Linked DNA regions of Homo sapiens: all the other regions are linked to region 3. Evidence: promoter capture Hi-C in 16 types of primary human blood cells and fetal thymus (Javierre and others, 2016). All regions are on one chromosome and are shown on one strand. Each heading gives the region's core, a stretch centred on a gene start or on the middle of the fragment in contact. The rest is flanking DNA. Distances are from core to core; before and after follow the strand shown.

Evidence for each region. Contacts are between HindIII fragments. The CHiCAGO score rates a contact against its expected background, and 5 or more counts as called.
Region 1: a contact is called between a fragment that was not itself captured here and the fragment with the promoter of ZNF81 in region 3, in 1 of 17 cell types (naive B cells). The highest score is 5.7, in naive B cells.
Region 2: a fragment that was not itself captured here is called in contact with the fragment with the promoter of ZNF81 in region 3 in 1 of 17 cell types (neutrophils); the score reaches 6.5 in neutrophils.

The regions. Positions count from the first base shown.
Region 1 is chrX:48,040,567-48,043,266 of GRCh38, forward strand. No RefSeq gene overlaps it. Among named protein-coding and RNA genes, the nearest start is that of ZNF630-AS1, 14 kb to the right of the region's middle. The HindIII fragment of the contact is 2,055 bases long and covers 270-2,324 here.
Region 2 is chrX:48,075,755-48,078,454 of GRCh38, forward strand. No RefSeq gene overlaps it. Among named protein-coding and RNA genes, the nearest start is that of ZNF630, 5.5 kb to the left of the region's middle. The HindIII fragment of the contact is 7,479 bases long and covers 1-2,700 here.
Region 3 is chrX:47,835,533-47,838,232 of GRCh38, forward strand. It overlaps ZNF81 (zinc finger protein 81), which reads left to right and starts at 1,370. Exons shown (of 5, transcript NM_007137.5): 1 at 1,370-1,455. RefSeq lists an enhancer at 1,118-1,497. The HindIII fragment of the contact is 3,931 bases long and covers 1-2,700 here.

The sequences.
Region 1 (2,700 bases), core at 47-2,546, 200 kb after region 3:
TAGGAAAATTGGAGGAAAATCAGCCTCAACCTATTGAAGGTAAGTTTGAGTATAATTGATAAATATTTTGAAGTAATTTAGATTGTCTGAATTGACCAGGTTAGGATATTTGAAAGCCTAAATAGAATAGGGAATTCTCATGGGGCTTGCCAGTTATTATTGTATATGGGTATAGTTTGTGTGATCTGGCAGGAGAGGATCAGAAGGCAATCAGGGCTAAGGGTAAAATTTTAGGCCATTGCGTATTGAGTTTTTCCATCAGTTTAGCAAGCTTTATTGTTTGTTTGGTTTGGTTTTGTTTTTTTTACAGATAGGATCTCACTATGTTGCTCAGGCTGGTCTCAAATTCCTGGGCTCAAGCAATCCTCCCACCTCAGCCTCCCAAGTAGCTGGGACCATAGGCATGTGCCACCACACCCAGCTAATTTTTAATTGTTTTTTTTGTAGAGATGGGATCTTGCTTTGTTGCCCAAGCTGGTCTTGAACTCCTGGCCTCAAGTGATCCTCCTGCCTTGGCCTCCCAAAGTGCTGGGATTACAGGCGTGAGCCACCATACCCACTTTAGCAAGTTTTAATTTTAATAGTCCATTAGGTCTGTCTATTATTACAGGAAAGATAGGTGATAAGGGATGATCCGGAGAGATAATAAGGACTACATATTTTTGTGATACAGGAAGAACGACTTGGATTTCTTAGATTACTTTACTGGTGAAATGGGTCCCTCAGCCACTTAAAAAGAGCTAATGGAATTGTCCATGTGCAAAACACTTGCCCTGTTAATTTAGGGAAGGCTAAGTATTTTTTTTACAACACTTCCCATACACTTTATATAATATTAACTAAATCTAATTATTTTAGTACCTCCTTTTAAAAAGTGAAAGAACAAATCATTTTGTGATTTCCTTGGGACCCTCTGGAAAATCTCAAAGGCAGGTTTAGGTATAAAACATACCATTTAATATTAGATTTGGAGCTGGTCGCAGTGGCTCATGCCTATAACCCCAGCACTTTGGGAGGCCGAGACCAGCGGATCACTTGAGGTCAGGAGTTTGAGACCAGCCTGGCCAACATGGTGAAACCCCGTCTCTACTTAAAAAATACAAAAATTAGCCAGGCATGGTGGCACACACCTATAATTCCAGCTACTCGGGAGGCTGAGGCACGAAAATCGCTTGAACCCGGGAGGCAGAGGTTGCAGCGACCGGAGATGGAGCCACCGCACTCCAGCCTGGGCGACAGATTGAGACTCTGTCTCAAAAAGAAAAAAGAAAAAAGATTAGATTTGAGGAAGGCAAAATGTCAAAAATTGTTAGGATACTTGAAAATTTGGTTAAATAGGGTCATGGGTCACTGATAAACAATACTTGGCTACCATTTAACTAAAGTGATTTTAAAGTAAATATAGGAGGTAACATGGTTGTAAAAATAGCTCTTTAAAAAGTGAAAAAACTTGATTCTCTTAAATAACTAAGGATATGAAAAAGTCAACATAAAGCACAGGTATAAAGAGCTGGGTGTCCTCTAATTCAATCCACTACTGACTATCTACTTGGAGACAGAGTCAGCTCCCACAAGTTGAGGACTCAGTCTCACAAGACTGTCTCCCATTTGAGATGCCAGTTGCAAGCACATATTGAGACCTGTACTTCTTACCAACTGGCTGTAAGTCAGGATTCCCACGACCCCCCTGAGGTTCAATTCATTTGCTAGAGCAGCTCACAGAACCCAGGCAAACACTTTACTTATGTTTACTGGTTTATTAATAAGGGATATAATGAAGGATGAAGATTAACAGCCAGATAGCGAAGATGCATAGAGCAAGGCATGAGGGAAGGGGTGTGGAGTTCCCATGCCGCCTCCAGAGCACCACCCTCCAAGAACCCACACATTTCCAGCTATCTGGAAGCTCCCCAAGCCCTGTCCTTTTGGGTTTTTATAGAGGCTCCATTACCTAGATGTAATTGATTACATCATTAGCCATTGATGATCAATTCAACCTTCAGCCCCAGAGTTGAGGGATGGGGCTGGAGGTCCCAACCTTCTAATCACATGGTTGATTCCCCTGGCAACCAGCTCCCATCCTGAGGCTATCCAGGAGGACATTAAGAGGTCACCTCATTAGAGCAAAAGATGCTTCTATCACCCAGGAAATTCCAAGGGATTTAGAAGCTCTGTGTCAGACACTCCTATCACACAAGAAATTACAACGGTCTTAAGAGCTTTGTATCAGAAACTGGGGTCAAAGACCAAATATTAAAACAGAATATTTTTATCATCTCTCTCTCCTGTAATGATAGACAGACCTAACGGACTATTAAAATTAAAGCTTGCTAAACTGGACATAGTGGCTTACGCCTGTAATCCCAGCACTTTGGGAGGTCAAGGCACCAGGAGTTCAAGACCAGCTTGAGCAACATAGTGAGACCCCATCTGTAAAAGACAAAACTAAACCAAAAACAAACAAACAATAAAGCTTAGTAAACTGATGGAAAAACTCAATCTCCAATGAACTAAAGTTTTACCCTCTCTGGGACTCTCCTTCACCATCTGTAAAATGAAGCCAGGGCTCATTTACGTGGGATTCCCATGAGGATCAAGTAAAACTGTGCTGGAAGACTTTAGCACAACACATTCCTGTCTGGCAGCAGAAGGGGATCAGCCTTGAGGTATAAAATTCTGGGTTGCAATCAGTGGTGTGCT
Region 2 (2,700 bases), core at 191-2,690, 240 kb after region 3:
TAAAAAAACAATTAGCTGGGTGCAGTGGTACATGCCTGTAATCTCAGCTACTCCAGAAGCTGAGGCAGGAGGATCGCTTGAGCCCAGGACTTCGAGGCTGCAGTGGGCTATGATTGTGATACTGCACTTCAGCCTGGGTGACAGAGCAAGACCCCTAAAAAAAAATTTAACAGCCAGCCAGATTCAATGTCAAAAAATGGGAGCATTAATGCTAAAATCTATAACTGAGCTCTAGGTTTAATATATAAATCAGAGTGGGAAAACTAATGGTGTTAAGAAACCTGGATTTAATTCACAGATCAGAAGAGGCATTGATGGAGGAAAAATAAAAAGAAGTCAGGTTTGGTTTTCATGCTAGAAATGAGTTGATGATGAAATAGTTAACAGAGATGCCCCAACAAGTGGGGCATTAGGGGTGGAAGCATTAACAGAAGTAGGCATAAAGAGAAAACTGAACAGTCCAGGCACAGTGGCTCACGCCTGTAATCCCAACACTTTGGGAGGCTGAGGCAGATCACTTGAGGTCAGGAGTTTGAGACCAGCCTGGCCAACATGGGGAAACCCCATCTCTATTAAAAATACAAAAATTAGCTAGGCGTGGTGGCACATGCCTGTAATCCTAGGTACTCAGGAGGCTGAGGCATAAGAATCACTTGAAACCGGGAGGGGGAGGTTGCAGTGAGCAGAGATCACACCACTGCACTCCAGCCTGGGCAACAGAGTGGAACTCCATCTCAAAAAAAAAAGAAAGAAAGAAAGAGAGAAAACTGAACAGAGAACCAGGTGCAAGGTCAGGCCTGAGTGGCAGTGAAAGTGGAAGAGTTAACACAGGACCAAGATCAAGGCTCAGATCTGAAGGCCATAGATGGCAGAAATGTGACCCAAGGCCTAGATTCAGTGTGGAGAAGAGAGGACACATAATCTGCTGTGTAGCCCTAACTAAAGCCACAATCATGTCTAGACTTCATCAGTGTTATGCAGTAGCTGCTGTGCACTGAATTGTGTTCCCTCAAAATTTGTATGTTGAAGACCTAACACCCTACATGACTGCATGGGAGATACGGCCTATAAGAAGATGATTAAGGTTAATGATGTCAGAAGGTGGAACCCTGATTGGAGACAAGTGTAAGAGACCCAAGAGATTCTCTCTCCGCCATGTGATGACACAGCATGAAGGCAGCCATCGGCAAGCCAGAAAGAGAGGCTTCACCAGAAACCAAACCTTTCTGGAACCTTGATCTTGGACTTTCCAGCCTCCAGAACTGTGAGAAAATAAATTTCTATTGTTTAAGCCATCTAGTCTATGGTATTTTGTTATGGCAACCTAAGCAGACTAATACAGTAGCTATGTACATCTTTAAGATTTCTCTCAAATATGTGGGAAACTATGTATGACAGGACCCCTGGAAGTTAAGAATTTTCATGATGATCAAAGCCCTTCTCAATAATTTTTTGATGCTTCTCTCTAGACATGTCCACAGGAATTTTTAAAAATAAAATGTTTAGGCAGAGCACAGTGGCTCAGGCCTATAATTCCAACTCTTTGGGAGCCCAGGGCAGGAGGATAGCGTGAGCCCAGGAATTGGAGACCAGCCTGGGCAACCTAGTGAGATCCCATCTCTACAAAAAATGTAAAAATAATAATAATAAAAAATAAAATAATCTTTACAAAAATTTCTGATGCAGTAAGTAATGCCTTTCATGCATACTCCTGGACTCTAGACCCAGAGCTTCTGATCCAATAAGTCAAGGATGAGGTCCAATACTCTGCATTTATTTTAATGCTTTATTTGGAAATAATTTCAAACTTACAGAAAAAGTTGCAAAAATAGTACAAAGAACTCTCATATACCCTTCATCCAGATTCTCCAAATGTGATTATTTTATCCTATTTTCTTTACATATATATAACATATATGTACATATATATGGTGCATATTATATATATATATATACACATAATTTTTTCTGAATCATTTAAATATAAATGTCTGTTGCAGGAAGTCAGGGACCCCAAACGGAGGGACTGGCTGAAGCCATGGCAGAAGAACGTGAATTGTGAAGATTTCATGGACATTTATTAGTTCCCCAAATTAATACTTTTATAATTTCTTATGCCTGTCTTTACTGCAATCTCTAAACATAAATTGTAAATATTTCATGGACACTTATCACTTCTTCAATCAATACCCTTGTGATTTCCTATGCCTGTCTTTACTTTAATCTCTTAATCCTGTCAGCTGAGGAGGATGTATGTCGCCTCAGGACAATATGATAATTGCGTTAACTGCACAAATTGTACAGCATGTATGTTTGAGCAATATGAAATGTGGGCACCTTGAAAAAAGAACAGGATAACAGCAATTGTTCGGGGAATAAGAGAGATAGCCTTAAACTCTGAATGCCGGTGAGCCGGATGGAACAGAGCCATATTTCTCTTCTTTCAAAAGCAAATGGGAGAAATATGGCTGAATTCCTTTTCTCAGCAAGGAACATCCCTGAGAAAGAGAATACGCACCTGGAGATATAGGCCTATGAACGGCCCCCCCAGGTGCACCTGTCTTTTATGGTCAAGACTGCAGGGGTGAAATAAACCCCAGTCTCCCATAGCACTCCCAGGCTTATTAGGAAGAGGAAATTCCCACCTAATAATTTTGGTCAGACCGGTTGCTCTCAAAACCCTGTCTCCTGATAAGATGT
Region 3 (2,700 bases), core at 120-2,619:
TATCTTTTCCTTTGCTTAGTGAGCTGCCCATGGTGCCCCTGGTGTGCAGTCTCCCTTATTGATTGCTGGATCTGTCAGACTAAAAATTAGTTTGAGGCTAATTGGACTAGGACACCTCTAACCTTCGAGATTGTTAAACCGAGGGCCAGAGGGGATAAGACTGGATTGAGAGCCCCCAGCAAGTCCACACTTCAGCCTACACCAGGTCCTCTCAAAATATTTTTTTCACCTGAGGATTCAGAAAGGCTTTCAGGAGGGCACACAGGCTTCTAGCTCTGTCAGGATTCTCTGGAGGAGGAGATATTTGAACTTGATTTTGAAGGATGAATAGGCATTCTTAGGTGAAGGACTGCACGACTTCTTCCCCTTCTGCTCCAGTGACATCTCCCAGAGGGCAGGGGCATCTCCAGAATTTACACATTGGAGGTGATATGGAGCAGCAAACTGGTTGAAGGGTAGAAGCAGAGCCTTGTATTAAAGCTACATTTCCAAAGTAAGGGCACCATGACCACATATATTTTACTTCATGAGGAAATAAAAATAATAAAGTTTCCTAAAGATTTTTATTGACATATTGCATTGGACTAAGGACACATTAAAAATTATTAGTATTGGTACTACGTAGTCCCTTTTTAGCTGGGGTAGATGGAGTGGGAGATAAGGTAAATTGCTGCAGCATTCAAACCTCGCATCCAAGCCCCACAGGCACAGCAGGAGGGGAACCCAGCACTCTGAGTTCTCCCTTTTTCCCACCTCATGGCATATCCTAGGAGGGCTTGCATAACCATGATTTCTCCTCCTCCTCCTCCCCTTGTGGTATGTCCTAGGAGAAGCCTGTAACCAGCCTGACATCTCCCCGCTTCTCATCCTGTGGTATCTGCCAGGAGATAGCCGCGGCCGCCCCTGATTCTTTCCAAGAGGCCCTTCAGTTTCTCGGAGCGGTATCACACAGATCCATAGACTACAGGTCCAAAGACCCCCTCCTCCAGTTAGCCCGCCCAGAGAAACGTCCCCACCCGTGCTCCCTGCCACCAGCGGGACAGCTCCACCTGAGTTTAGAGCAGACAGCTCTAAACTCACAGCCTGCTCTGTGAGTTCAGAGGTGTCCTCATCCTCAATACGGATGGACACTCCTCCAACATGGTGTATCCCATGGGGAAGCGCGACGTGGGCGCGGCCATGTTCCCCACCTGACCACGCCGCCGAGGGGTACCGAACGTCCCAAAGCACCCACTTCCGTAACTTCTCCATGTTGACTCCTGGCTAACAGCAGCTTCAAAGGTGGTTTTGCGCACGCGCGGAACCTCCGCTTCCCTCATTCATGTGAAGTCCCAAACCCCGAAAAAGGGCGGTGCTAGGGGTAGTGACCGGAAGCGGCTGCGGTTCTCGCCGGTTCTCAGCCGGGGTTTGATAGTTGTCAGGAGGATTCGACGTTCAGTGCCCAGGGATGTGGAGGTGATGGGGGGCCGGGGAGGGTGAGTGCTGGGCGATTCTGTGTGGCCAGTGATGGAATCGTTTATCTAACTTGAGTTGGATGATTCACTCATCATTTTGCAGGCTTTTCTCTTTTCTAACATCACCGTTAAGGTCTTAAAGTTCATTCTAAGCCCCATTGGGTTTGGAGCATTATGTTTTTTAAGAGTGTTAACTTGTATTCATTTGTCTTTTACCCGGGAGTTATTCAAAAGTGGGGTTTCAGTGTGCAAAAGTTTATCTCTGTAATGGATCTCTAACCTTAGTTTTCTGTGTTAGAAAAATATCTACGTGAAGCTCATTCCTTGAAATATAAGGAGACTTATGGCCTAGTCCGTGGTGAATTTTTAGAAACGTTCTATATATAACTTGAAAATAATATTTAATTATTTAGTCGTCAATTGTGTCATAGAAAATCTATCCTTTTTTGTCTGCTTCTTCTATTACTTCGAGGAGAGAGAAATTCTCCACTGTGATGGTGATTTGTCTGTGTCTCCTTACTGCTGTCTGTGATCCTCTGTGAGTTACTTTTTGTATAAAGTATGAGACTTAGGTCGAGGTGCATTAATTTGCTTATGGATGTCCAGACTGAAGCACCATTTGTTGAAAAGACTATCTTTCCTCCATTGACTTGTCTTTCACCATTGTCAAAAATAAGTTGGCCATACTTGTGTGTGGGCTCTTTCTGGGTTTGCTATTCAGTTCATTGTCTATGTGTCTATCCCTCTGCCAGTACTACCTTGCTGTCTTGAATTGGATAGAGTGATTCCTCTCACTTTATTCTTTTTCAAAATTGTTTTAATGCCTCTGGTTCCCTTGCCTTTCCTATATGCATTTTAGAAAATCTTGTCTCTATCTACAAAGCATCTTGCTTGGATTTTGATAGGAATTGCATTAAACCTGTATACCAACTCGGGAAGAAGTTAAGTCTTAACTGTGCCAAGTCTTCCAATCCATATACATAGTATGTCTCTCTATTTATTTAGATCTTTTAAAATTTCTATAAATGGTGTATTTTAATTTTCATCACCCAAGTTCTGTACATGTCTTATTCAATTTATACCTAAGTATTTAATTGTTTTGGAGTGGTCATAAATGGTGTTATCTTTTAAATTGTTGCTTATATATAGGAATACAATTGAGTTTTGTCTGTTGGTCTTGTATCCTGCAATCTTGCTGAGCTCAATTATTAGGTTTTACACCTTTTTTGGCAGATTCCTTGGATTT